Linked DNA regions of Homo sapiens: region 1 is linked to region 2. The links are contacts of gene promoters, found by promoter capture Hi-C in blood cells and fetal thymus (Javierre and others, 2016). All regions are on one chromosome and are shown on one strand. Each heading gives the region's core, a stretch centred on a gene start or on the middle of the fragment in contact. The rest is flanking DNA. Distances are from core to core; before and after follow the strand shown.

What was found. The method cuts DNA at HindIII sites, captures the fragments that hold promoters and counts their contacts. A CHiCAGO score of 5 or more calls a contact.
Region 1: a contact is called between a fragment that was not itself captured here and the fragment with the promoter of ACBD3-AS1 in region 2, in 1 of 17 cell types (neutrophils). The highest score is 5.1, in neutrophils.

Annotation. Positions count from the first base shown.
Region 1 is chr1:225,485,644-225,489,519 of GRCh38, forward strand. It overlaps ENAH (ENAH actin regulator), which reads right to left. Exons shown (of 14, transcript NM_018212.6): 14 at 1,186-3,876. It overlaps LOC124904526 (a long non-coding RNA gene), which reads left to right. Exons shown (of 2, transcript XR_007066903.1): 2 at 911-1,191. Among named protein-coding and RNA genes, the nearest start is that of LINC02765, 20 kb to the left of the region's middle. The HindIII fragment of the contact is 688 bases long and covers 1,738-2,425 here.
Region 2 is chr1:226,145,932-226,149,914 of GRCh38, forward strand. It overlaps ACBD3-AS1 (ACBD3 antisense RNA 1), which reads left to right and starts at 2,072. Exons shown (of 2, transcript NR_146443.1): 1 at 2,072-2,137. ACBD3 (acyl-CoA binding domain containing 3) reads right to left here. Exons shown (of 8, transcript NM_022735.4): 8 at 1-890. The coding sequence ends at 679. It also overlaps the pseudogene LOC124904586. The HindIII fragment of the contact is 12,330 bases long and covers 1-2,972 here.

The DNA.
Region 1 (3,876 bases), core at 832-3,331, 660 kb before region 2:
GTGCCACGGTGTCCTTGCCCACACTGCCCAGGGCTAGGGTAGCAATCTCATGACAATAAGCTCCAAAAGTTACTGGGAACTGAGGGGCTTCACAAATCTTTTCAGCATATAGTCTCTTAGGGTCTGGCCTCTTTGCCATAACACAATGGGATTCAGCCTAGAATGAAAACATCCAAGAATACAGAAGGCTGGGTCAGCTCATGACTGCAGTGGCAAAATGCATTCCCCTACAGCCCCTTTCCGCTGTACACCAAGGGCTTCTCAGTTGAAAAGGAGAGGAGAGGTAACAGACATTCAGTCTATTTAGAAATGAGGCTGGCAAAAAAGGAGGTGACAAGTTACTCTGGTTCAGTTGATGAACCTTCTTTTCACCTGAGCCTTCTTTTCACCTCCCTGACATCAGAGAATGAAAACAAAGACATCATACAGAAAAGTGTGGCCATTAAAAGGATCACACCCTTTACACTAATGTGCCAGCAAGCTCCTCACAAACCACAGACTCCCAGATATTCTTAGCTGAAAGGCACCTGCCTCTAGGGACCTCCAGTGAGGGGCAGGATGGTCACAAAGTGAGAACACCAAGTCCTTTTTTTTTTTTTTTTTTTTTTTTGTAGAGACGGGATTTCGTCATGTCACCCAGGCTGGTCTTGAACTCCTGGACTCAAGCAATCCGCCCACCCCTCCCAAAATGCTGGGATTACAGACATGAGCCACCATGCCCGGCCTGAGAACACTAAGTCTTATGTCTGTCTTCAGCTCTTCAAAGCCCCAAAGCACTTGCACCATTGTGTAGTTTTGCAGTGGTCCCAGTACTGGTTCCTGCAGTAAGTACGCTTAATACTAAAATGCACAGGGCATTTGGTCCTGGAGGAAAATAGCACGTACATGCAGCTCGTTCATTTACCAACAGGCTGTTCACTGGCTTTGGACGCCTCCAATGAAGAGGTCACCAAGCTTTCCGTCATAGAGGAGCAGCAGCATTCAGGGAAAGGATGGCGGATCGCAAAACACTCCCCTTGGTGACAGGCTGAAATGCAGAAGGACCAGTATAGAACGCTCCTCAAGCTTTTAGAACTGAGCGTATTTTAAGGTCAGAATCACAACCAAGACAAAAGAATGCAACTCTTTTCATGTCGTATACCTTTGGTAAATTAAGAGCAACTGGTAAAATAAATACAAATCTCATTTGAATTAAGTATTTCATGTTTTTATTTCAAAAGAAAAAAGGATACCAAGAAGCAGAAGAATGAAGCAGTTAAAACCAGCAAAGCTGCAAAGTAGGAAAGAAAGCTGAGGGAGAGATTGATCCGATTTCAACGATGTGGCCACTTAATGCAAACACAGGGGTCTGATGCTGCAAACCTAAGTCACATGAGTCCAGTGACTTCAGCAGGTCCACTGATCCACCACAGTGACAGGGCCAGGCCCCTTCCTGCTGAATCCTAACTTTACACATTCTAGACACATGTCATGCACATACAGGTTACACTTTATGGTTACATGAAATTGCATGCAATTCACACAGAGAATCATTTTGAAGGCACTGTATTTTGCAGCAGGAGCTGCTACTTTCTGGCAAGTCCTTCCTAGGTTGGCTCACAAGTGGTCCTCCTTTTTATTTATTCCTATATGAAACTTTGGTCCAAAAATCAGGTGCAGTCTGATCCTACCCTCCCAGCTGTTTTAGTTTCATGTCTCACCTTCTCTTCCACGTTCCCTTCTTAAACGTAGATGTCAAGCTTAGAAGATGTTTCCTGACAATGAGATCCTGTTTAATTCAGATTTTCAAACAACTTGAGTCAAGCAAGCAGGAGCTTATAGTATGTTGATTTAAAACAAGTTGTTACCAGTTTCCCTTACCCTTGAATTCGGCAAGGCCCATTAATTCACAAATTCCATGATAAGATACATGAGGTTCTGTATGCATAGTAAATGATTTCTAGTTACAATTAAAATACAGCCTTGTATATGTTTAAGTCAACCTTAACTTTTAAAACATGACTTCAGTATACGCAACCTTAGGCTCACTTCCAGATTATAAAGTCCCATTCATGGGGTGCAAATGTTTACATTGTTAGCAAAGAAAATAGCTCTGCATAATCTTTTGACATACATGCACACTTCTAGTTCTAAAATTCAGAGCAAAGCAAGATGACAAGAGATTCCAATTCCAGCATATATTATGAAAGGTTATGGACTGTGACTATCCATCCTTTTGGACCATAAGAAATTCACTTTTAAATTTTTTCTACTGTGCTGTTCTACTATATACTTTTGGTCTATCAACTTGGTAGGCCTGAAAAAAAAAAGTATTTAACCTTCTAAATCTCATAATAGAAATTATGTACGTTGTTCTTTAACCAGAAAGGTTCACTGCTGACTCCCCCACCTCTCAAAAAACAAACAAACAAACAAACACCACCAAAGCTTTCCGCCATTCATGCACATGCTTATTCTGACCCCAACCCCATCCCTACAAAGGGGCAGCAGACAGCACAATAGTCAAGGACAAGGTTTTTATTTATTTATTTATTTATTATTTATTTATTTATTTTTTAAGGAGACAGGCCTCGCTATGTTGCCCAGGCTGGCCTCCAACTTTGGGCTCAAGTGATCCTTCTGCCTCAGCCCCCCGAGTCGCTGTGCCTAGGAGCACGCACCACCACACCTGGCTTAAGTAGAAGGTTCTGAAATCTGCCAGAGGCTGAGCAACAGAAAGCTTCCAATGAGAACTCAGAAGGCATTCACTCTGCCTGAAGTTGTGCTCTGCTCACAGCACGAGTGTGGCTGTCCCTCTCTCGCTCCCACCAGCTACATAATAGGGACTTTCAGGATGCTCCTATAAATACAGACTCCAGAGAGGTTTCCTCAAAAATTAAAAAAAAAATTCTATGCAAATATGTAAGTACTGTCATTGAGGATTACAGAAATACTTTGCATCAACTACAGATGTCTCAAAATAGAATTCTTTCTAGCTCATTCAGTTTTGTTAGAAACACTTCATGTTCTCCAAAAAAGAAAAGCACCTAACGAAAAGCATGTCCTATTCATGCTAGCAAGAAATGAATCCCAAAGGACACGCACCAAGAACCAAAGTAAAAGAATGTCAGCAAAACAGGACCCATCTTTTATCATCCCAAACTGCTATTTCCATCTCTGACTTTCTGCCAAATTATCTTTATCTTCCTAAGACGAAGCAAAGACTCAGAGCCCTCAAATGGCACGGAAGCGGCACCTGGTCTGCCAAGACATTGCTGTTAAACAGAGTCTTTTGGATTAAAACCAGGGAACTCGGAAGGAATGACTACATGGATATAGATGGATAAGATGGAAGATATAAAATAAGAAGGGCAGGAGGGTAAGATTATTCCTTTTTTCCTTTCAAGGCTGACAGTGATAGAATAAACAGCAGCACAGCAGGTTCAGATGATATGAAAACCACTGAATTCTGCCCAGGAATTGAAAGAAGGGCTTCTTCACTTCATCGAGCTCTGGAAAGTCTGTTTACTTAGAAACAGCTCTTGAACTACAAGAGTCAAATGGACCTTCTGCTATTCATATAATTGGAGCATGGATCTCGTGTGGTCCCATTACATGATTGGAATCAGTCTTTCTGAACGGCAGAATGTGCTTCCAGGTTGAAGCACAATGGAGAATGTACTGAAGCCACCACAGAGATGCTGGTAATTCAAACTGTGAAAGCACGTGGCGCAGAGGAAACTGACACAGAACAGCACACCACTGGTGCTTTATGCAACACCACTGACCCCAAGATGGTCACTCCATTGATTTTTCCGCATTGTTTACATCCAGGATGCATGCTGTCCAGTGCAATAGCGTCTATGACTATAAAACAACTAAAAGCTGCACTTAAGA
Region 2 (3,983 bases), core at 822-3,321:
GAAGAAAAATCTCTGAGGTGTTCTACGTATCTTGATACTTCAATTATCAATTAGTTTTGAACATTCTAGTTTAAGATTATCTCAGAAAATAATTCTCTGTAATATAACTCTGAACTAAACAGCTGCACCCAAAGCAGAAACAATCTGGGTCATTCTGAACGAGATCAAACTGAGGCCATTTCTTTTTCTATTATAATCTGTGAGGTGTTGAGTTTTTAAGTTTTAAAAATGGCCTTTAATCAAAGCCAGCTGCACCTGATATAGACTTGTTAACTTATGGATTTCAAATTAGAGGACACTGTAACTACGGGCTCTCATAAGACACATGGAGCAGGCAGCAAGGGGCTAACCATCAGCCGGGTAAGGTCAACGTTGGGGTGTTTTATTTTGGAGACTTTAAATATTTAACATGTAGCTCATGTAACTTCAGCATCCACTAGTGACTCTGCTGGTCAGCACCCAAGGGCTGGATGAGTCTGAGGAATCTCCTTTAACCCCAAAGTATGAATGCTAAAGAGTCTCAAGGAAATTTTGATTCCCAGCAAGAGTTCACAAACCATCAGACCAATATCAATAAGGTAAACTGTGACTCTAATGCTCCACAAAAGTAAAAAGAAATTTCCAAATTAAATGTCATCTTCTGCCCAACCCTAGACTCCAGACTTTGTAACAACATTTTTATCTAGTATAATAGACTCTGTAGTAGACTGATTTTGACCGCCACAAAGAGTAGGAGTTGTCAAACTTGAGGAGATAGACTCCTCTCCCTGGATATTGATGGCTGCCAGCATACACCTCCTCATGACAGTCCCGTCGGTACACAGGCACAATCTCATCCAGCAAAGGCTTGTTGGCATTCTTTTTGGCTTTCTCTTCACAACCGATGTTTTCTGTAAGAACAGAGACAAGTCAATGAACAGATTCAGGAAAACCACACTTGCATCAGGCAATTAAAATCTATCCTTTCTTTTTTTTCTGGAGACAGAGTCTTGCTCTGTCACCCAGGATGGAGTGCAGCGGCGTGATCTCAGCTCATTGCAACCTCCACCTCCTGGGTGCAAGCGATTCTCCTGCCTCAGCTTCCCAAGTAGCTGGGATTACAGGCGTGCACCACTACATCCAGGTAATTTTTGTATTTTTAGTAGACATGGACTTTCACCATGTTGGCCAGGATTGTCTCAATCTCCTGACCTTGTGACCCACCTGCCTCGGCCTCCCAAAGTGCTGGGATTACAGGCGTGAGCCACCGTGCCCAGCCTATCCTTTCTTTGAGAAACTGCTCTTGTTGGGAATTCTGTTGAACCATTTAACAAGTTATGTGCATGTGAGCATTTATTAGTTCGTTCATTCATTCATTCATTCACTCATTCATTCAAATACCTAAGTATGTGCTATACACCAAACCCTGTTCTGAGCCCTGGGAGCCCAGTGATGAACATCTAGTGGTAGCAGTGGTCAGCATCCTATCTCTTTCTGTGCTTACTACCATTCCTATTTCAAGGTCCCATTTTCCCCTTTCCATAGCCATTCAATTCCTAATTCATCCTCAGGAATTTCACTCATCTGAGTAACATGAAAATGTTGCTCTCATCATCCTCCTTCTGACCAATATGAGTCCTCCCCATTTTAGAAAGATGGAAGATGATTTGTGAGGACTATTGCTTTCTGTATATCTTAAATATAAGCAGTAAAATGAAAAAATCATAGTAGAGAGATAGGCATTCAGAGATACTCTGAAAATTCAATTATTTTCACTAGGCCAATTTAACCCAGAGATGATCTAAGTGGCAAAAAATGGGCTCTGAAAGGTTTGCCCCGGTTAAGAGTTTTTTGAACTGTAATGCTATGAGGTTAGGAAAAAAAATGCCTCTAGAAACCTACAGGAATGAGAAAATTATGAACCAGCTTCGAAGTCACAGTTTAACATATTTAATACAAACCAGCTCAAAGAGGTCAAGGGAGTATTCAGCACAGAAGACAAGACTTTCGGGTTTATGGTTGTTGTTTTTGTTTGTTTGTTTGTTTAAGAGACTGGGACTACAGGCATGGATTTTCAGGTTTATAACATGGCAGAGTGAATTCTGGCAACACACTGAGTGATGCTTGTCAATGGCCACTATCAGGAATTTAAAACAAGGTAAGTTTGAGAAATTCTCACCGTCTATAGCAGATTAAGGAGATATGATGACTGACTATAATGTGGCATCCTGGAAAGGATCTTGGAACATTAGGTAAAAACTAAAAACATCTGAATAAATATGGACTTTAGTTAATTAATGAATCAATGTATCAATATTGTTTCATTAGCTGTGATGAGTGCACCACAGTACAATGTAAGATGCTAACAACAGAGGGAACTTGGTGCAGGGTATATGGGTACTCTTTGTGCTATCTTTGTAACTTTTCTGTAAATCTAAAACTATTCTAAAATTAAAAGTTTATTTTAAAAAAGCAGATGGCACTCTTATAAAGGTAGGTCAAAACCAGATTTACTTAACCACAGAAATACCTATAATTAAGCATGTTTCACATGCAAATGAGAAATACAGAACCATCCAAAATGTACACTATTGTTGACATCCAAGAAATAGACTGGTCCATTGATTCAAGACTCAAATTTTGTTTTAAATCTATAAAACTAAAGATTACTGGGATAGATGAAAAGGCATCTTTTATGAATTTAAGCCAAGGTTTAGGACCTGTAAACAATGAAGAAAATGGAGAATTAAAACAGGAGGATGTGTTACCATCCATGCTTCTTCAGAGAAAGCAAACTCCTCTGTCTACCTTTCAAGACCTAAGGAAGAAAAACCAAACCAAAACCCAAAAAACTCAGACTCTTCTACCATATGAAATACAAGACACGGTAGGACAGTAGCTTCTAAGGCATATGGACAAATACAATTTGTGAGCTAAATCTTTAAATGGGATGAAGTGACGCTCATGTAATGAACAATTCTTAGGAATGATAAAGCTTCACTGCTGTGAGGCTAAAATGTTTTAGCTGCAAATCATTTTATGATTAGGAATGGTACAAGTACAGGGAATGCCATCTTTCATTTGAGGGACATATTAGAACTAAGATCAAGGATATTAAGGTTCTTACCTCTAGAAATGAACCCCTGCCATTTTCACTAGTGATCTTCCCAACACCAATATAACCCCAAAACTATCATCAGCTGAGGGTTCAGACTAGGCAGTAACCACCTTTTAGAAGCTCTCTAATAGGCAAGCCAGGAGAAATACATTACCTCAACCAACTTCTGAACAGAGAATTCTTATTCACAAAGCTCTTTCATTTTTTTTTTTTTTTGAGACGGAGTCTGGCTCTGTCGCCCAGGCTGGAGTGCAATGGCACGATCTCAGCTCACTGCAATCTCCACCTCCCGGGTTCAAGCGATTCTCCTGCCTCAGTCTCCCAAGTAGCTGGGATTACAGGCATGTGCCACCATGCCTGGCTAATTTTTGTACTTTTAGTAGAGATGGGGTTTCACCATGTTGGCCAGGCTGGTCTTGAACTCCTGACCTCAGGTGATTCACCCACCTCAGGCTCCCAAAGTGCTGGGATTACAGGTGTCAGCCACTGCGCCCAGCCATCTTTTTTTTTTTTTTTTTTTTTTTTTTTTTGAGATGGGGTCTGGCTCTGTGGCCCAGGCTGGAGTGAAGTGACTTGATCTCAGCTCACTGCAACCTCTACCTCCTGGGCTCAAGCAATTTTCCCACCTCAGCCTCCCAAGTAGCTGGGACTACAGGTGCACACCATCACACCCAGCTAGTTTTTTGTATTTTTGGTAGAGACAGGGTTTCATCATGTTGCCCAGGCTGGTCTTGAACTCCTGAGCTCTAGCAATCCATCCGCTTTGGCCTCCCAAAGTGCTGAGATTACAGGCAGGGGCCACCGTGCCTGGCCTCACAAAGCTCTTTGTAAGTACAGTAATTTGTATGCATACAAAAAACTTTCCTTCCCAGACATCTGCAGACAG